Regions from separate parts of the Homo sapiens genome. Here region 1 is linked to region 2. Evidence: promoter capture Hi-C in human tissues and cell types (Jung and others, 2019). All regions are on one chromosome and are shown on one strand. The core of a region is centred on a gene start or on the middle of the fragment in contact, and the rest is flanking DNA. Distances in the headings are between cores, read along the strand shown. Region 1 holds the start of KANK1-AS1 (KANK1 antisense RNA 1). Region 2 holds the start of DOCK8 (dedicator of cytokinesis 8).

What was found. The method cuts DNA at HindIII sites, captures the fragments that hold promoters and counts their contacts. A contact is called where the count stands out against the background at its distance.
Region 1: a contact is called between a fragment that was not itself captured here and the fragment with the promoter of DOCK8 in region 2, in 1 of the 25 tissues and cell types used here (mesendoderm cells).

What each region holds. Positions count from the first base shown.
Region 1 is chr9:681,518-686,470 of GRCh38, reverse strand. The region is part of intron 2 of KANK1 (KN motif and ankyrin repeat domains 1); the gene reads right to left. KANK1-AS1 (KANK1 antisense RNA 1) reads left to right here and starts at 916. Exons shown (of 3, transcript NR_198989.1): 1 at 916-943. The HindIII fragment of the contact is 3,732 bases long and covers 1-3,167 here.
Region 2 is chr9:212,229-216,114 of GRCh38, reverse strand. It overlaps DOCK8 (dedicator of cytokinesis 8), which reads right to left and starts at 1,250. Exons shown (of 48, transcript NM_203447.4): 1 at 1,086-1,250. The coding sequence starts at 1,138. It overlaps DOCK8-AS1 (DOCK8 antisense RNA 1), which reads left to right and starts at 365. Exons shown (of 1, transcript NR_160804.1): 1 at 365-2,658. RefSeq lists silencers at 776-915, 1,086-1,135, 1,186-1,235, 1,246-1,495. The HindIII fragment of the contact is 11,669 bases long and covers 1-3,886 here.

The sequences.
Region 1 (4,953 bases), core at 52-2,551, 470 kb before region 2:
CATCAGGCTGATTCACCACTTGAAGAGGTGGGGCACCGGTTGGGGTACATGCTGCATAAGCTCAGCAGGTACTTCTGCCTCCTCTGCCAGGTCACAAGAAGACAAACCAGTCTTTGTCCTCACAGCTGAGGGGGAACATGCCAAACGGGTTGCCCCAAAAAACATATTCGTGGTGCGTCCCTGAGTTGAATAAAGCATCCCAGTCAATCCACCTAAAAATGCTGAGGGAAAAATAAATAAATCGGCTGCACCGTGTTGGGTAGACAGACTTACATGAGGGGGATACTGAGAACAGAGGAAGAGAGAACTTTTTTCTGGTTTTAGTTAGAAAAAAGTAAGAGCTGATGCACATGAGTAGGGTTTTTAAGATATTAAGCACTGGGCATATAAGTTACTGGAAATACCCCATCTCTCTCTTTGATGTTTTCAGTTTGGAATATTCTTCCCCCTTTCTTCCTGGAGAGTCTTAAATGTACCTGCTGTACAGAAACACTTCAAACGCCTTGGCCTAATGGACAGTGGATGCAAATGGAAAAGGCACTCAGTAAACTGGGCAGGGATGGGAAAATTGGGCAGGACAAGCTGAATCAATGTTTTCACAAAATTATTTGCAAAGCTGATGGATGGGATTTATCAACTAAACCAAATATTGTGAGACTAAATTCAGAAAGCCACACAGCTATCTTTTGATTCTGCCTAACAGAGATCATGTCCAAAGTAGAAAAGATCCCTGAGAGAAAACTTTTCCAATGGAATAAAATCATGAAAAAGGAACTAAAATAAACTCAGTACTAGTAACTATTAGTAGCAAACTGTTCCCATAAATGGTTACTCTAGTACTACCTCCTTTAAGTAAAGGTTTGTATGGTGAAATTCCAATTCCACAACCTCTGATCCAGTTGGGAGGGAAATCAGGGATCAGGCAAATCTGGCCATAAACAAGGTAAGAGTACAAAGATTTAACTTTCAGGATACGAACAAATCCTACAAATCCAACAATTTGTCCCTTAGCACAGCTCTCCCTTATGTCTATAGTTCTGTTTTTCTATCTGTTGATTAGAGTGGCCTTCTCTCATTTTTATAGAATATTGTTTAATCTGAGTTTCAGCCATGGCTTGCTTTAACTAGGGTAAGAAATCTGGTCACTATATATATTTTTAAATCTCAAAATAGCAGCGTACTTATTTTTAAGTGGTGAGATAACTCATCGTATAGAACTACCAGCTGAGATGACTAATGCTATATGTACAAATGGGCCGCATTTCAAAAACCTGTGTTTTCCGGATTCATAATGAACTGCAGCTCAAAAGCAGAACCAGGCTTAGCCTGTAAAACATGAGCATACTTTTCCTAAAGCATGTGGAAATGAGTAACTCAGTTAAGGCTCACTCCAAAAATATCCAACAGAGAAGCCAAGGAAGGAAAAAGAAAAGAGTCTGCTTTTGGTTTTTGAACTTAGAATTTCTACAACTGTTTGAATGAATCTTATAAAATCTGATTTCCTGGATGGGTCTCCTTAAAGGTTTTATTAGAGAAGTCTACCCAATGCAATTAATTTTTTTTTTTGGTCAGGAAAGAGCAAGAACTTATCGTTTCTGTGAATTTGAGAATTATGATAATATTTTTCATGCCAGATCAAATCAAACCACCTTTTATAGAAAAGGAGCCAAAGCGGTGACTGTGAGCTTTAGTCACGATCATTTTCCTCTAAGCCCATACAAACCTTTCTCAGAAACTGCACAAAGGAGATGAACTGAAATTATCCCAGACACAGGAAGAAGGCAAACCCTGGAAAAGGAAGCAAATGAGCTATACCTTTGATGGGCTCAGCTAGCCCACCCAACTCATTCAAGAAAGAGGGGAAGTGCATAATCAGAAATAAATGCCAATACTCACAACGAGAAGTCTGCTGAGGAAGAGCAGAGCACAGAGTTTTCAAATCCTTGTAGGAAGGGCTGTTTTAACCCTTTGACTGGCTACCCAGTCTCTTAGAATAATAGCAACAGCTCGAGTTCTTAACACAGCGAATCTCCCTGTTGGGTGTTTATTTTGTATGTGTTTTTTTCTTTCTTTCTTGTTGGCACCTATAAAGTTGGTACCAGGCAAAAATCCCCAACCAAAGGGTTTCTTTGCCCAGTACCCAGGAGCAGGAGCACAGATTTTTCTCCTTCCTACACTCAAATAGGCTGGTACTCACTGGAAGATAAATCATCCTTTCTTGGCTTAGCTGGAGAGCTAATCGCCTGTCTGAAATCTGATGCTTAAGCCATTATGACTGGCTCAAGGCTTGGGGCAAGAAAGCTTATAAGGCGAAGCTGGCTACAGGTTAAAACAAAGCCTTAAGAGTTTATGAAACAAGCAAGCTCTGATGAGCCAGGGGCTTTTCAAAACCTCTCCGGGGGCTGGGTGAATTCTGAGGTTCTGATTAACCACACAGGCAAGACTTCAAAACCCAGGGTGTCCCCCATTTGTAGGTGGTCCCAACATTTTAAGGGTTATGAAATTGAAATCTAAGAAGTAGTTACATTATCTTCTCAAACACCACCACTATAAGAAAATTATTTCATCTATAAATTTCAGCGTGAAATTAGCCTTCAAAAGACTAACAGCTACAGTTTCATTGAAAGTTGAAATGCATAATCTAATTAAATGCAATTATTAAACACACTAATACTAGGATGAAGCTGTATGATGCAATAAATAAAGGAATAACAATATGTTTATTAATTTGAAATAATCCATACTAAGAAAAAAAGTAACTTACCAACATAATCCCTATCAGGGAGGACGTTTTATTTTTAAACACTGTACTTTAGGGTTTTATGCAGTTTTCTGAACTACATCCTTTTCACTTGATCTGTTTAATCAGAACTTCACAGATATCACACTTCTGATTTTAAATGTCAACATAATAAATAACCTTGAACAAAGGAAAAATGTTCTCCATGTCCAACTTCTGGCTTAGTCATTAGCTGTGTGAGCTCAGCAACTTGTGTTTTGTCATCTGAGAGTATGGAAGGAAGGCTGGACAACTGAAATGGAAACACACCCTTTTAGTTCTTACCTACGTGCTTATGGCAGGCTCCTACCTATGTGTTTATGTCAGGCTCCTACCTATGTGTTTATGTTTTACCCTCTCAGCTATTCTAATAGCCTCCAACACACTACTTATGGGAGAATACAAAGCACAAATAAGAACACACATTTTAATCCTTCTGCAAATTCATTCAACCAGGAGACCCTGAAAAGTCACGGAGGGTACCCATGAATTAAAGCAGCCATAGTTTCTAATCAGCAAACTCTCTGCCTTCGGGGTAATGCTAACACAGATGACAGGTCTAAGACTCACCACCACGGGCGCACACTGCCTCTGCTGTGCTGTGTGTTTCCTTACAGATGATCTCAGAAAACACCAGGTGGGTTCTAGCCAGACCAGTCACTGCAAACTAGTCTTATACTTGACAAATAGCACGTAATTCCTGCTATCAGGTTCACCGCAGTGGGCTCAGAGTTCTGTTTGAGAAACGCTCCTGCCCAGAAAAATATTTACACAAGCGAGAGTGGGGTGCACCGCACTGCAGCATTCTGCCTACCCTGCCATGAGCCTGGCTCTGTCTGGCTGACCCGGTCTTATCAGTGGCCTTTGTACTCATTTAAGATCAGCATAGAGACAAAAGCTGGAGCCAAATAACTGACCAAGATAACGAGATTCAAGCCCCACAACAGTTACTAAAGCCATGAAAACATTGTGCCCTTTAACCCAGTCATCCTGCTTCTTTGAAATTGTTGGGAAATAATAAAAAAGGAGGAGAAAAATGACCAGGGAAGATGTTCTCTGCAACATCATCTACCATAGGGAAAATGTGGAAGCAGTCCAAACATCCAAACAAAAAAAGAATACTTCAACTGGTAGAAACACCATAAGGAATATTATACAGTCATTGAAAATAATAATTTGAAAACTATTTTCCATGAAGACTTGGAAAAATGCAAAGAATGTTAAAGTCAAGAGCTGATATCCAAATTATAAAAGCTTATTGAAACTGTGTTTAAGTTTGTTAGCCTGAAAAGCATGAAAAATAAATACTAAAAATAAGACCTAGTGTGGAATTTTGAGTAATTCTTCTCTTCTGGTTTCCTGTCAAATTTTATGTTATCATTAATTTAAATAACTTTTCTTTTTTTTTTTTTGAGACGGAGTCTCACTTTGTCATGGAGGCTGGAGTGCAGTAGCACTGTGTCGGGACACTGCAACCTTCGTCTCCCGGGTTCAAGCAATTCTCCTGCCTCAGCCTCCCGAGTAGCTGGAATTACAGGCGCCCACCACCACACCCAGCTAGTTTTTATATTTTTAGTAGAGACGGGTTTTCACCATGTTGGCCAGGCTGGTCTCGAGCTCCTGACCTCAGGTGATCCACCTGCATCGGCCTCCCAAAGTGCTGGAATTACAGGCGTAAGCCACCGTGCCCAGCCTAAATAACATTTTAATGCAATTCAATAAGCATCTTTAATAAATAAATATGTATCTGTCTGAAAAAATATATATCCAGGCTGCAAAAAAAGAAAGAGCATGAGGGAAAAGCTATAATCAATTGGGGAAGGCAACTAGTAGCAAAAATAAAGATGATAAGAGCAGGCATAAAAAGTCACCTCCCAGTGCTCATCCATTTATGTCATTTAACTGGGTTTAATGAGGATGTTAATACAACTCTGGCCCCAATATCATGGCGTCCAGCAGGGCCTGACATGAGGGTACCTGGGATGTTTCCTGATCAGCGGCTCATGACAAGGACAAGAGAACAAGGGGAATGGTGCTATCCCCTGACATATGACCAGCACTTTGTGTTTTAAAAAGTGTTTTTACAGCTATTCTTTTTTTCCCTGCACAACCACCTTGTGAAGAAGGTAGGATAGCTATTATTATCTTTCTTTCACAAATAAGCCACTTGTTAT
Region 2 (3,886 bases), core at 1-2,500:
GGAAATAAAATCGTCAATAAAGCTCGATATGCCCTCTAGAAGACCTTATCGCCTTGTTTTTCTAGGCTTTTAATTCCTTGTTCAAACCTCTTCACACACTAACAGCACAAAGATGAACCTACGGTGGAATCCACCTTTCACAGGCTCAGCTAAGTGAAGATTAACAAATCGGACAGCCCTGTGGGCAATAGAATAAGTTGACACTTTAGAATGAGTTTCCTATTATCTTTTAACTAGACAGTCTAGCTTTCTCAGGGCAAGACAAAAATGTCCCAATTACTTGTCAGCAGTTTTTAGTGGAGGAAAAACTGCAGTTAAAGCACCTTTACTGAGAACTTTGAGCAGTAAATGTGCTTACATATTTAGTTTGTGCAACTTTGATTAGGAATTGGATGGTGAGTTGGGATCCCCCAGTCCTTAGCTTTTTGCTGGAGTTCTGTAAATCTCAAAATGTCAGCCACAGGCCATTTCTTTTGGTTTATTTAAGTGTAGATTTTTTAAAAAATCACTTTTTCCACTTCATGGCTCCTTTGGACCAGGGTATAAAAATAGCGATGCCACCAGGAGCCAAGCTCTTTCTGGAATAATGAAGCAGGCGAGGACGGAGCCTTGCTCAGGACGACAGAAGGCTTGCAGCCTGCCTCAAACGCAACTCTAATTTCAGCCACTTCACTTCTTCCCCCCGCGCTCAGACTTGCCTCAAAGGAAGGAGCCGTTTATGAGACACTCCGTGGCGCGCCCAACACGGTTACCCAGGCGCCTATCACCCTTCTGGGACCCGGCCACCTGTAAGAACCTGGAGGGCGGAGCGGGCGAGGTTGTTCGGGGAAGGGATCCCCGGCGGCTGAGGACATCCAGGAGCACCGAGATTCTTGGGGAGGACCTCGCCGGGCCCAGCGCAGGAGCCGCCGCGCGTCCAGCGGCTCCACCGCCGCAGCCTCGGGAACCGGGCGCCCCAGGTCTCAGGCGCGCCCCGCCGCGGACGCGAATGGACTCGTCCGGCCTCGGCCCCTGCAGCGAAGCTCCGCTTCACACCAGCGCTGGGCTGTCCGGCCGCAACCTGCGCGCCGCGGGGGGCGTCTTACCTGTTGATCTTGAGCGCGAACGCGCGGCGCTCTGCGCTCGGCAGAGTGGCCATGGCCCGCCGGCGGTTCGGTGGCTTCTAGGGTCGCGGGGTGCGGAAAGCGGGGGCCTGGCGCGCCGCAGAGTAGCCGCGGAACATGCCCAGCCAAGCGCAAACCTCGTCTGTCGGTCGGCGCTGGAAACTTCCGCATTTCCACCTTCTAAGCCGAAATCACCCCGGGGGAGGGTCCGAGCTCGGAGCAGCGACGGCCGGCTCCGCCACCCGGCCTGGCGCGCAGGCAGCGGCGGGCGAGGAGGGCGTGGGCCCAGCGCGGAACTGGCCTCCCGATACTGGGGCAGACGGCGCGCTCTGCCCGGGGCCGCCGACCTCCGGCCGAAGGGAGCGCGGGCGGACGACAGGCGACCACTGCGCGCAGGCCGGAAGCTCCATCTGCCCGAAGCTGCGAGGCTGCCAGGGAATGTAGGCAAGTCGGGGGAGCCCCACAAAGCTGGCGAGGTCGGGAATCACCCCAGGGATTCGTAAGGCTAGGTGTTATTAAGGGTTGACACCATTCTCGAAGAAGGCAGCCAAAAAAAAAGACAAAAAAGTTAGTGGAATCTATCAGGATTCAAATCAACTTTTGCAAGCAATATGCCCATCATCCTTCCTGAGACACTAAATAAATATAATGGATTCATCCAAGGAATAAACATTATGAGTTCTCAAAAAATGTTTTCGTCACAACCTGGCGTGAATGCTTTTCTCCGGAGAAACACTGAAGGCGGCGTTCTTGCGATTCAAGGGTACGCTGCGTCCAGGTTTATTTCAGTTTCAGACTGAGGTCTGCTAAGAAGCCCGGCCTCAAACTCAAGATAAAAACAGAAAAGTCCCAGTGTTGACGGGAGTGGAGGAGCCCGTGTTCGCTTCAAGGTGCCGGCGTGCTGCTCTAACCTGTGCTATATATACTCGAGCACTCTCCATATAATGCCTCCATTTACCAACTTGCTCTTAAAAAATACCAAAGCAGGCCGGGCGCGGTGGCTCACGCCTGTGATCCCAGCACTTTGGGAGGCCGAGGCGGGCGCATCACGAGGTCAGGAGATCGAGACCATCCTGGCCAACGTGGTGAAACCCCGTCTCTACTAAAATACAAAAAATTAGCCGGGCGTGGTGGCGCACGCCTTAGTCCCAGCTACTTGGGAGGCTGAGGCAGGGGAATCACTTGAACCCGGGAGGCGGAGCTTGCAGTGAACCGAGATCTGCCACTGCACTCCAGCCTGGCGACAGAGCAAGTCTCCGTCTAAAAGAAAAAAAAAAAAACAACCAAAGCGAAGTATTTTTGGTTCAAACCTGCACTATTTAATATGATAGCCACTAGCCACATGTGGCTATTGACCACTCGGCATTATGGTTAGTCTGAATTGCCCACTGCTGGATGTGTAAAATGTACACTGGAATTTAAAGACAGCGCAGAAAACATCGTGTAAAATGTCTTGTTAATGATTTTCATGTTGATTGCATGTTAAATGATACTTTGGATATAAAAAATATATTATTAAAGTTAATTTCACCTGTTTGTTTTCCCCTTTTAAAAATGTGGTTTGCATTTTTAAAAATGTAAAATTACACATGTGGCTCACATTTGTGAGCCTCATTATATTCCTATTGGACAGTGCCAGTCCAATACAACCTAATTTGTCACCTAATACTAAAATCCACCTAAGGACTATATTCAGTCTCTTCCTGATACAGCCTTCCTTCCTGGTTTCAGCTGTGTCAGGTAGTTTAGTAACTTTTCAGTACTGGTTAGGTAACTCCCCGCCCCCCAATGCCCACCAAATATCAGTGCCCTTTTAAGCATATAAGACAAAGTTCACTGCATAGACTACAATAGACTACATACGAAAACAAACCCAAAGAAAAATAAAGCTTTTTTGAAATTTAGAGTTTCTGACTTTCAAAACTGTCCTTATTTACTACATTGGAATTTATGAGCAAACATTTGGATAGCAAAATACAAAGAGAACAAATGTGTAAGTACTTCTTCAAACTGAGACTCAACGAATGATACATAGAAAACATTTTGCCCCAGAGGCTTCGGTCCACGGTGTACCATGTCAGCCTTTCGGATGAACTCCTCTGAATTTCTGAATGTTTATGACATACATTTTCATATAGAACAAAAATATACTGGTTTCACACAAACATAAATAAAATGTAATGAAAGCATCTCAGATTTTCAGCATTTGCAATCAAGGAAACTTTTTGGGTGAATGTGGGAATCATAAAACCTTCCATCTTGCCTCAGATCATACTGCAATAGATTTAGTATTTGGTACCTAACCATGAAGGTTAGGCCAGCATTATTATCCTCTGTGCTGTCAATTTCTTGATGGTTAGAATTGTCTCCAGATTTCCTTAACACTCTTTTAACAATTCACCATGAATGTGTTATCCATTAATTTAGTCAAATGCCTGTTTTCAAGTTTGATCTGCTGTTAGATACATTCACATATTGCTGGCAAATAGCCATCCAAGTGCCTTTCTTCCTTATTCTCACTGCCTCTTTCGTTTTCCATCAGCCCTCTGTCCAGAGAGAACTCTGGGAGGCCTCCTTCTTTCCGCATCTGATGGTCTCTCTTGGCCTTCCTCTTTCTCCGTATCTTTGTGTCATTCAATTTTGTTTTTCACCTTTATACAACTCTTCCCTTGACTTCTATCTCAGACCATACATCAATTATCCTAAATGCTCTAGTTTTCCCCACATCTTCTTCTTACCTCCCCAGAAAGCCGACCTCTTTCTCTACATTGCATCTTACCTAT